Linked DNA regions of Homo sapiens: regions 1, 2 and 3 are each linked to region 4. The links are contacts of gene promoters, found by promoter capture Hi-C in human tissues and cell types (Jung and others, 2019). All regions are on one chromosome and are shown on one strand. The core of a region is centred on a gene start or on the middle of the fragment in contact, and the rest is flanking DNA. Distances in the headings are between cores, read along the strand shown.

Region 1 (2,746 bases), core at 28-2,527, 640 kb after region 4:
AGGCTGCCTCTCCTCCAGAGGCTGTGGGGAAAAGGTCTGTTTCCTAGTCTTTTTATAGCTTCTGGAGGTCTGTCACTTGCATCGCTTGCCTCATGGCCCCATCCTCCATCTTCAAAGCCACTGTATAGCCTCTCTCTTCCTCTCTCTCTTCCCCTCTCTCTTCCCCTCTCTCTTCCCCTCTCTCTCTTCCTCTCTTCTCTTCTTCTCTTGTCCTCTTCTCTTCTCCTCCTCTCCTCCTCACTTCCTCTCTTCCTCTCTTCCTCTCTCTCTCTCTCTCTCTCTCTCTCTCCCCTCCACCCCACCTCCTGCTTCCCTCTTACAAGAATGCTTGTAATTACATCAGGTCTACCCAGATAATCCAGGATAATCTTTCCATTTCAAAATCCTTAATTGGGTCACATCTGCAAAGTCTCTTCTGCCATTCAAGGTAACATAATCACAGGTTCCATGGATTAGGACAGGAATATATTTGGGAGGCCATTTTTGTGGATGGGAAAGAACAGATATTCCTTACAGAATCTGCACCTGCCCATAGATTATAAGAGACAATAAAGATCTAATGCTAGCAACAAATAATATGTAGCAAGAAGTTTAGTAGAGTCAAGTGTGAAGATATAAATTCAAGTCTAAACTCCACCATTAACTAGCCCTCTTTGACTCAGTAGTTTTGTCTGTATAATGGACATGTCTACCTCAATCTCTGAGTTATCATGACCAAAAGGTCATGAAAACACGTTTACAAATGCAAACTATCATTTCTAGAATGAAAATCATGGAATGAAACTGGGGGATATGAAATTTCACTCACCTTTGCAGTCATTCACACCAACCCTAATCTATGAGGCTTCTTTCTCCAGAGTAAGGAAGGCTCCATCTAGAGCAAAAAGGTCATTCATCAGATTTGGATATTAAAGTAGCATGAGGCTGTGCACAGTGGCTCATACCTGTAATCCCAGCACTTTGGGAGGCCGAGGCAGGTGGATCAACTGAGGTCAGGAGTTTGAGCCCAGCTTGGCCAACATAGTGAAACCCTGTGTCTACTAAAAATACAAAAAAAATAAAAAAAATTTAGCTGGGCGTGGTGGTGCACGCCTATGATCCCAGCTACTCGGGAGGCTGAGGCAGGAGAATCGCCTGAACCCTGGAGGCAGAGGTTGTGGTGAGCTCAGATCATGCCACTGCACTCCAACGTGGGTGACAGAGCAAGACTCTGTCTCCAAAAAAAAAAAAAAAAGTAGCATAAAAAGCCAGAATTTGCCAAGAGATAAAAGGATTTTCTATACTCTCCAAGGTCCTGTTATGTGGCCATTAGGTCATATAATGTGTTAACACATTAACAACAGCTAAAACTGGCTGCCCAGGTGCCAGTTTTACTGCAGATATGATGTGGTTTTAGAGACATGGGAAGCCATGTATTCCCACCTCAGTGTTCTATGGGCAGGAGAAAAGACAAAGAGGCAGAGTGAGCAGTTCAAATGCCAGCGTTCTTGTTCCCTCTTCCCATCCGCCACTTTGGGACAAACACAGATGGATAATAGGACCCAAGGGGCACTTAGGTTACTAGACAGTGAGGAGGTCATGCTAGACTTCCCCATGTGTACCAGTGGAGGGGAGAGCATGGCAAAGAAGTCCCCATGTGGTCACATCCAGCCCAGGGTGGCAGCATTGGTGGAGGGAAGTGCCTGTCTGGCTAGATGGCCTGCCACAACCCTCCTGGCTTTCCATGGCCTGCCCAGGATGTACAGGGCTTCAGAGAGCAAATGGTCTCCAGCAGGACCTAGAACCTACTGTGACTCAATGGCCTCCAGTCCAGGGATGAGGGAGATACATGTGGCTCTGAGGCCTCTGGCAGAAAAGAGTTAACATAGTCAGTTTGAGACTGCTTGCAAGGTTGGCCCTTGGCTGGCATCTACATTGGATTTGGGGTGGGTTCCCAGCACTCCCAGAAAGGACAGGAGCAGTTCGCTGCGCCTGAACTCTTTGTACAAAAATGTGGTTTATGCTGAACACCTGCCTTCCTTCTGGAAGCCCGGACTTTTGGTACATCCTAGGCCACAGATGCTTATGTGACTGACCCTCAGTAAAATCCTTGGACTGACTCCTAGGCTTAGTGGCACTTCCCTGGTAGACAGCATTCCACATAGGTTGTCACAATTCTTTCTAAATAAACTAAGTATACCCTGTGTGACTTCTTGGAATTTTGCATCTTGTCTCCTCCAGCTTTGCCCCATGTGTCTCCTTCTTTCACTCATTTTATTTTGCACCTGTTCACTATAATAAATCATAGCCATGACTGTGACTATATGCTGAGTCCCATGAGTCCTCCTAGCAAGTCTTTGGAGCTGAGGGTGGTTGTGGGGATCCCCGACTCAGGCCTTTCTTCCCCTGCCTCCAAGATGTCCCTTGAGTTCTCTTCTATACACCCAGCTGACTCTTGCAGAGAAGCAGGAGTGGCATGGAATCTGAACCACTGAGTGTGCAGCTGACAGGCACGTCCCTTCCAGAGGTTGTGTATATTACTTATTGGACTAAATGTTGATTTCTCTCCTTCTTACCATTCACTACATTTTTGGATACTTCTAGGTGTAATGTGAACAAACACTCAAGCCCTGTGTCATTGTTATTGTAAAATGTCACTTTCTCACTATTCCCATGTGTCCACCTCTACCCTCCCCACTCAGCAGGTGACAGGGCAATCTGTTCACGAAAGAATTGGTCTCCCCCTCATCAGGCCAGTTCCTGGGAC
Region 2 (2,912 bases), core at 349-2,848, 960 kb after region 4:
GGAGAGAAAATTAACCTTTGACTAGAATCAGGAGTTTATGGGTTCATTCAAAACATGGGTGTACTTTTGGCTTGCCTGGGTACAGAATTGTGCAGAGAATCCGCATGCTTCTTATACCAAGTAACAGTTTGAACGGAGACATTGTCTATTTTGGAACTTCTATGAGAAAGCAAAGAAAGTTCGCAAGCAGGAGCAAAAGGAAAATCAGGGTTTAGCAGGAGAGCTGGAAGTGATGGATACAGGTGAATTCCAGTTGATGACTTAAGCTGATTTTTTTTTTTAAGAGACAGGTTCTCACTACATTGACCAGGCTGGTCTGGAACTCTTGAGCTCAAGCAGTCCTCCTGCTTCAGCTTCTGAGCAGTTGGGGCTACAGGTACATGACACTGTGTACAGCTTTACTAAGCTGATCATCATTCCAGGGATAAATTAGGTTGTAAGTCAGGGTTGCCTGTGGTACTATATTTGAAGATTATGCACTTAAAAAGAAAGAGGCATATGCTTTAGATTCATTTCCTTGTCGCTATTGGCCTTATGCTTATATCACTTATGGAAGATGGATAGGGAAATCTTGAATCGTGGACAAATTGTGGGAAAGTTTCCAAATCAAGAAATATAGGCTGGTTGCGGTGGCTGATGCCTGTAATCTCAGCATTTTGGGAGGCTGAGGTAGGTGGTTTGTTTGAGCCCAGGAGTTCCAGACCAGCCTGGGCAACATAGCAAAACCCTGTCTCTGCTAAAAATACAAAAAAATTGGCCAGGCATGGTGGTGCATGCCTGTAGTCCAGCTACTCAGGAGGCTGAGGTGGGAGGATTGCTTCAGCCTGGGAGGTGGATTCTGCAGTGAGCTGTGATCACGCCACTGCACTCCAGCCTGGGCCACAGAGTAAGACCCTGTCTCAAAAAAATAATTAATTTTTTAAAAAAGAAATATAAATTCTCTTTTAGTAAGCTTAAGGCTATGAAAAGTATAATTGATGCATCATCCTGTGACAGTTTATAAGTGTTGAATCTGTTACGTTTGTTAGTACTTTGAAAAGTATTGAAAAACTGTTTTTCTCCTCATAGATGGATGGTGACAGTTCTACAACAGATGCTTCTCAACTAGGAATCTCTGCAGACTATATTGGAGGAAGTCATTATGTTATACAGCCTCATGATGGTAAGCAAGCCACAATTAGAACCAAATTCTCAAGTTGAAGCAAGTTAGAAAGTGGACATTTCATTAATATGGTGTTCTAGGCTACTTGTGTCTTTATAGGAAAATTTACAATCTTGTGTTACGGTTCAATGAGAAAGTCTAAAAAGGCGTACCATGCTATTTTTATTAGAAATAGTCTTCAAAAGAATGAGTCCTTGAAAAGACTTTTACTATAAAAATACACCTTGTCTAAAATCTGTACAGTTTCTTTTAAAATTTGTTATCGACTTCCTGTTTAAATGTTAAATAAGAAATTTATAATCAATTGATAGGGTAACTAAAATAATTATTTAGAGGGTGAGTTAAATTTCTAGCTATTATATTTCTTGCACTTATGATTTATTTTTGGTTTTCATTCAATATTAACTTTGAACTATGTCAGGTATTAGAATGGTAGTGTTGGCTCAGTGTGGTGCTCACACCTATAATCCCAGCAGTTTGGGAGGGCAAGGTGGGCAGATCACTTGAGCTCAGGAGTTCGAGACCAGCCTGGGCAACATGGTGAAACCCCACCTCTACAAAAAAATTAAAAAATTAGCTGTGCTTGGTGGCATGTACCTGTAGTCCCAGCTACTTAGGGGGCTGGGGGCTGAGGTGGGAGGATTGCTTGAATCTGGGAGGTAGAGGCTTCAGTGAGCCATGTTTGCACCACTGCACACTCCAGCCTGGGTGACAAAGTGCAAAGTGAGACCCTGTCTCCAAAAAAAAAAAAAAAAAAAAAGGCAGTGTTATGTTGGCCTATCAGAAATAATTTACTTTTGTGGCATTTTGGTTTGTAAAAAAAATTTTTTTTTTTTTTTTATTTTTTATTTTTTTTGAGATGGAGTCTTGCTCTGTCGCCCAGGCTGGAGTGCAGTGGCACAATCTTGGCTCACTGCAACCTCCGCCTCCTGGGTTCAAGCAATTCTCCTGCCTCAGCCTGCCCGTTAGCTGAGATCACAGGCGCCCAGCACCATGCCCAGCTAATTTTTTTTTAGTAGAGACAGGGTTTCGCTGTGTTGGTCAGGCTGGTCTCAAACTCGTGACCTCAGATGATCTGCCTGCTTCAGCCTCCCAAAGTGCTGGGATTATAGTCATGAGCCACCACGCCTGGCCTGATTTGTAAAATTTTTAAAAATTGAGATATATTTTTAGAAGAAACTTGCCAGAGGGATTAATTTCATCCTGAAACGGATATTCAAATAAATTAATTCTGATAACATCATTTTAAACACATAAAAACGTAAATTGAATCAACTTAAGTGCCTTGCCTCCTTACTTAGTACATATGAAGAGTGGGCAGTTTACTTACAGGATACTGCATTTAGTCATAAAAGGATGTTATTGGTACTGCGCAAGCTTCAGTTATAGCTAAATTTATATAATTTGAAAAGTCCCTTTTTGTATGAACAGTTGGATCACTGCTCTAGCTTTGTTCAAAAACTAGTTACATTAGTAAGCCAACTGGATCAGTAATAATCAAGTCCAGTTTTTCCATTCTTTAAAGAATTTTATATAAACTTTATACAGACAAGACAACTTTATATCAACTTTAAAAGTTTTATATAGACTTTTACATAAATGAGTTTATATAAACTTGGGTTTGGAGAAACATACAACCTCTTAATCTAGCAGTATTGAAGGAGCCATAGGTTACGGTCTGTAAGTTTTATAGCTAAGTCGTATAATAAATATTTATGAGTACCTACTCTGTGGAAGGTGCTGTACCAAG
Region 3 (2,754 bases), core at 1-2,500, 620 kb after region 4:
ATGCATTCATCCAGCAAACATTCTATTGAGAACCCACTGTTGTCAGACACCGTGCAAAAAACATCGGGATTAAAATGGAGTCTAAAACCTGGTCCTTGCCCTATAAAATATTCTTAAGGAAGACTATTAACTCAGAGTATCAAAAACTTCTAAATGTAACTATCCTACTGACAAGGCCCACTTCTGCTAAACCCTTGTGCAACTGATGACCAATTACTCAAATTTGCAAATTAATCAATTCTATGAATTAGAAAAGATAATGGGCCCCAGATTAGAATCAGAGAGAGGGACAGCCAGCCTTGCCAGCTGTCTCCTTTTTGTCTCTTTTTTTTTTTTTTTTTTGAGACACAGTTTCACTCTGTCGCCCAGGCTGGAGTGCAGTGGTGCCATCTTAGCTCACAGCAACCTCTGCCTCCTGGGTTCATGCTATTCTCATGCCTCAGCCTCCGGAGTTCCTGGGATTACAGGCGTGTGCCACCACACCCAGCTAATTTTTGTATTTTTAGTAGAGATGTGGTTTCGCCATGTTGGCCAGGCTGGTCTCGAACTCCTGAGCTCAAGTGATGCACCCGCCTCAGCCTCCCAAGGTGCTGGGATTCCAGGTATGAGCCACCGCGCCCTGCCTTCCTTTTTTTCTTTCTCTCCCTCCTCTCATACCCTCCAGCCACCAACGAAGCCTGGAACCCATTGCTTTTGCAATACTATTTTTCTATTTCACATGTAGGTATCTGGAACCCCTGCCAGAGGCCTCCAAATTTTTAGCTACACAATCCGTGCCATGCTGTGGTCCCTTCTGCCTCTCCCAGGGTGATCTGGAGAGACAGAAACTGCAGAGCCAGGCTGAAGGATCAGCTCTCCTTACCCCCAAGATACTTCAGAGAAGCAAGGATCTTTAACTTTTAAAGAAATTCAAACCAGTGAAAGAGATTCCACATCAGTGGTCATTAACAGTGTAGCTTAATAAAATGAACCCCTCAAAAAGAAAATGTTTAATGTAGATTTGAAAGTATATTTTTATGCCCCGTGTAATGATAAACTGTTGACACAGAGCTTTTGTGGACTGTAAGTAATCTGAAATAAGGAAGGCCTTTCAACTGAACTATCTGTAATTCTACATTCAACACAATGTTTTGAAAGTAGTATTTGCTATGGACTGGAGGGAAATATCAGAAAAGTATATTTATAGAGATCTAAATAATAAACAATGGGAGAAAATAGGACTAGAGGGGGACATAAAGGATGGGGCAGGATCATCGACAGAGGATCTTTTTCAGCACAAGCTTAGAAAAGGTTCTCTGCCTCTTCCAAAAGGCTAGGCTGAAAAGATATGATGTCACTTTCAAGTCAACTTAAGACTAACAAGGGCTGGAAATTTTCACAAAGTGACAATTACAAGTTGGAAGTTTCTTTCTAGTATCTTTGGCTAGAAAGTTATTTCCCAATTCTCACAAAGAATTCCATGACAATTGTATTTCCCTGGGCAATTAACAGGTACACAGAAGCTCAAGCGCATTCCTGCTGAAGGCTGACACTCATCCGTGTTCTGGGCATTCGTACAGAGCATTACTGGCATTCACGGTCCCAGCGAAACCTGAACACAGCTCTAGAGTCTAGACCAAATCACCGGCCCCTTGTTTAAACTGTTTGAACCCGAGTGTATCTGTACACCACCAGTCCCCTGGCGCTCTGGGGTGAGTCTGGCCCGGTCTCCGGTGGGCCCTGGAGCTTGGCACTCTGAGATACCCCTGGCTGTCTGGCCCTGCCCACTGCAACCAAGGCCTGCCTGCCGGAATGCAAGCCAGGTCCATTTTTAAATTCCTTTATAAGTTTCACAACCGCAGGTTTGGGTGAGGAGACAAACACCGCTGTAGTTTGCTGACATTAAACTAAAAATACCCAGCTGCAAACAAAAGCCATCTTTAACAGGGCTGGCTCGGACGTCCTGAGGTTACATGTGGTAGAGTCGGACCATATCCTTGGCAGTGTGGCTGCCTTAACAACTGCTCCAGACCGAGTGGGGCAAAGGGGCCGTCTGTCCCTGCGCTGTCAAGGAATCTGCAGCCTGCAGCCCTGCCTGTTTGATGGAAAGAACAGCTTTATTCCTCTGCCATCGACCCAAACGCAGGCTTGATGAATTCGGGACTGCGTCTGTTTAAAGTGTTAGATACACAGTGAAAGGAGAAGGCGGGAGGCAAAAATGAAAAACACCAACCCCACTTCCCTGGAAGGAAATGCGTTTCCACCTCCCTCCTCCTTGCAATTAGAAAAGCAAATTATTGCTGTGACTACGCTGAGAAAGGCAACTCGGAGGCGTAGAAAATGGATTTCTGAGCCAACGTGGCCCGGCAGGGGGCTGCTAAGGGAGGGTAAAAGGGAGCAGGGGAGCCACGGCTTGGCGGGGAGACCCGCGTTACCCGGAAGGCTTCTCGGAACGTTCTACCTGTTGGGCTTCGCAGCCGAGCTGCTCACCCCCGGCCGCCGCGCTCGAGGGCGCCCCTCCCTCTCCAGAACCCAAACTTTCCCTCGCACCCCTAGGAAGCGACGAGCCTCGTCCCTCCCCCAGTCCAGATTTCGGACGTGGAACTTTGCCTGAGCCACAAGGGACCGGAGGAATGGGGTTCATTCCCACGCCGCCCGGGGGATTCCCGTTGCTCGGATCCCAGAAGTGGGGGATGCAAACGGACGGTCAGCCCAGGACCTGGCCAAAGTTTCCTCCAAAACTGCAGTGGTCAAGGCGTGACCCAGGAGCTCGGA
Region 4 (2,700 bases), core at 56-2,555:
AGACTAAGAGAGAAAAGAATCAGAAAAAAGCGCCTCCAGGAGGCAGCATGTAAGCGGTACCTTTCAGAAAAGAAACGGTCGTGCCAAGATAATTACAAGTGACAGATGACAAGCTTTTCTGGGAAACATTGTCCAAGAAGGAATAGGCAAGAACTGCAGTCAAGCAGAATTACATATGCAAAAGAGCAGTGAGAAATAAGAGAAAATGGCAAATTGCAGACGGCCCTGAATGCTGGGCTAAGAAGTCTGGCTTGAGATAAACGTCCAGCTAAAGCAGGTCTGAGCGTTTTTTCCAGAGAGGTGAGGGAGAAGGGCACGTATCTATTAGGTTGATGCAAAAGTAATTGCGGGTTTGCCATTATTTTCAGTGGCAAAAACCACAATTACTTTTGCACCAATTTATTTATTTATTTTTAAGACAGAGTCTCGCTCTGTTGTCCAGGCTGAAGTGCAGTGGCATGATCTCAGCTCCACTGCAACCTCCGCCTCCCCGGCTCAAGTGATCCTCGTGCTTCAGCCTCCCGAGTAGCTGGGACTGCAGGCATGCGACATCACGCCCGGCTAATTATTTTATTATTTTATTATTTTTTATTTTTAGTAGAGACGGGGTTTCACCATGGTGGCCAGGCTGGTCTCGAACTCCTGAGCTCAGGCCATCTTCCCTCCTCGGCCTCCCAAAGTGCTGGGATTACAGGCGGGAGCCACCGCGCCCGGCCTACCGTCCTACGAGGTAGGCATCAGGATCCCTCCACAGCGAAGGCGCCCCCACTACCTATCTGTCTACAGGCGTGCCTTTTACGGGCTGTGCTATGGACAGCACTTGGGATGTCAGATTGACCACTAATAAGGTAGATCCGTATACACTGCTGCGGGGCTGAGTAACTGGTAGAGGGTCCCACAGTTAGAAAGCACCTGGACCTTGGCTGGAATTGGCGGAAAGTCCAGGCAGCGGAGAGGCGCGGTCCCTGGGACTGGGTGCGCTCTTGGCACCAGGGTCAGGGCCCACAGGCTCCAGGAAGCCCACGCGCTCCGCCGGGTCGCACCAGGTTGGCTGTCCGAACGCAGCCAGCTGGCGGGGCGGGGCCTTCCAGCTGGGGGCGGGGTCTTGACAGCTAGGGGGCGGGGCCTTGCAGCTGGTAGGGTGGGGCGGGCCGCGGGCTGTGGGCTTTGGGAGGGGTGCGGACTAGCAGAGGCCGAGAGCGGCGAGCCGCGAGCCAGGCAGTCCGGGGCATCCAGACTGCAGGCCGCGCCCAGGCCGCGCCCAGGCTGCGCCGCCCGCCTGCCTCCCGCGCTGCCGCGTCGCCAGTGCTAGCGCTCCTCTCCAGCATGCTGCGGCGGGGCAGCCAGGCGCTCCGGCGCTTCTCCACTGGCCGGGTGAGTCCGGCCCGGGCGAGCGTCCCGGCTGTCACCCTGTCCTGGTTTCCAGACTCCGGGGCGGGAGGGCCGGGGCGGTGGGGCTGGGGATGAGCAGCGATGCTTAGACTTTGCTAAACACCAAGACAGCGTTTAAAACAAACAAACAAACAAACAAAAACAGAGAGACCTCAGAGGAGGGCTTGGGGAGGGTCCCGGATGGGAACTGGCACGCAGGCCATTGTCTTCTGCCGGGAGGGGGCTGAGGATGCAGTTTTTGGACGTGTCAAGTCTGGCTGGGATGGCAAGGTGGGAACAGTCACTTGGTAAGGAGGACAGAGTCTGCTTCCTTTCCTTTTTCACTTCAATCATGAGATCCCTGGTCAAGAGCTGGAGCCATATGGAACCGAGACTGTCTCCTGGAGGAGGGGAGTATCAAGTCAATAGGGTCCTCGTTGGCGGCCTGGGAGGTGTAAGCGCTCGAGACTGGCACGCAGGGCCGGTTCAGATAATGGCACTCAAAGCTGATGGCTGCAAGCTCAGTATTCCTGAGCTGAGCTGCAGATGGCAAAATTTCTAGAATTGCCAGGCGCTGCAGAGGCAGCCACGCTGGAACACTATTCTACTGTAGCACAAGAACCGAGCTCTGGCCCAGCCCCGCGCCTTGGAATTGCATCAGCTCCTCCAGAAATGGAACCGAGAGAGGACACGTTGCACTGCGGTGCTGCCTTCAGCACCCAGGGGGCCTCGGGACTGTTTAGGGAAGAGAGAGAGAGAAAAAAAAAAAATAAAAACTGTCTTATGTATCGTATCTTTTATAGGAAGTACATAAAAGAATTTGCTTATCGATTCTTTTTCTCGGCCATGCCAAAGCCATATGTACATATGTATATATTCAGATGTAAAAAACTTGGAGGCAGAGAGAAGTCTTGAGTAGCACCAAAAACTGGCCCAAACTTGCATCAAAGGAAAAGCTTTCTGTATCCCAGACAACCCCAAATAATAAGAATTCGTTTTACTCTTTGCAACCAGTTCTAGTTACTTTGAGGTATAGTCACCTTTTATAAAACGAGGGGTGGGGGTGGGGAAGACCTGCTCTGCTAGGACTTTGGCCTGCTCTCCTGGACCCCTCATTAGCTTCCCCCACCACGTGGCACATGGGATCCCAGATGGATAGCACAGAAAGCAACGGGCTGTGCCCAATGCCTGAGCCTGTTTTGTTGGCCTCCTCTGTCAACACCTTTCACTGACTTGTCTTTTTTGGTGACCAGAAGGAAGTCTTGCAGAATGAAAAGATTTTGATAGTGCGGTTTGCATAAGATTTCAGTAATAAAAGGTAAACATCTC

What was found. The method cuts DNA at HindIII sites, captures the fragments that hold promoters and counts their contacts. A contact is called where the count stands out against the background at its distance.
Region 1: a contact is called between a fragment that was not itself captured here and the fragment with the promoter of ALDH1L2 in region 4, in 1 of the 25 tissues and cell types used here (lymphoblastoid cells).
Region 2: a fragment that was not itself captured here is called in contact with the fragment with the promoter of ALDH1L2 in region 4 in 2 of the 25 tissues and cell types used here (lymphoblastoid cells and mesenchymal stem cells).
Region 3: a fragment that was not itself captured here is called in contact with the fragment with the promoter of ALDH1L2 in region 4 in 2 of the 25 tissues and cell types used here (bladder and lymphoblastoid cells).

The regions. Positions count from the first base shown.
Region 1 is chr12:104,440,646-104,443,391 of GRCh38, reverse strand. No RefSeq gene overlaps it. Among named protein-coding and RNA genes, the nearest start is that of CHST11, 15 kb to the left of the region's middle. The HindIII fragment of the contact is 4,879 bases long and covers 1-2,746 here.
Region 2 is chr12:104,126,674-104,129,585 of GRCh38, reverse strand. It overlaps NFYB (nuclear transcription factor Y subunit beta), which reads left to right. Exons shown (of 8, transcript NM_006166.4): 3 at 1,069-1,162. Among named protein-coding and RNA genes, the nearest start is that of NFYB, 10 kb to the left of the region's middle. The HindIII fragment of the contact is 6,155 bases long and covers 1-2,912 here.
Region 3 is chr12:104,458,252-104,461,005 of GRCh38, reverse strand. All of the region lies in intron 1 of CHST11 (carbohydrate sulfotransferase 11), which reads right to left. Among named protein-coding and RNA genes, the nearest start is that of CHST11, 2.7 kb to the right of the region's middle. RefSeq lists silencers at 2,520-2,579, 2,740-2,754. The HindIII fragment of the contact is 4,193 bases long and covers 1-2,754 here.
Region 4 is chr12:105,083,063-105,085,762 of GRCh38, reverse strand. ALDH1L2 (aldehyde dehydrogenase 1 family member L2) reads left to right here and starts at 1,305. Exons shown (of 23, transcript NM_001034173.4): 1 at 1,305-1,374. The coding sequence starts at 1,327. RefSeq lists a silencer at 998-1,427 and enhancers at 1,928-2,167, 1,662-2,462. The HindIII fragment of the contact is 4,053 bases long and covers 1-2,700 here.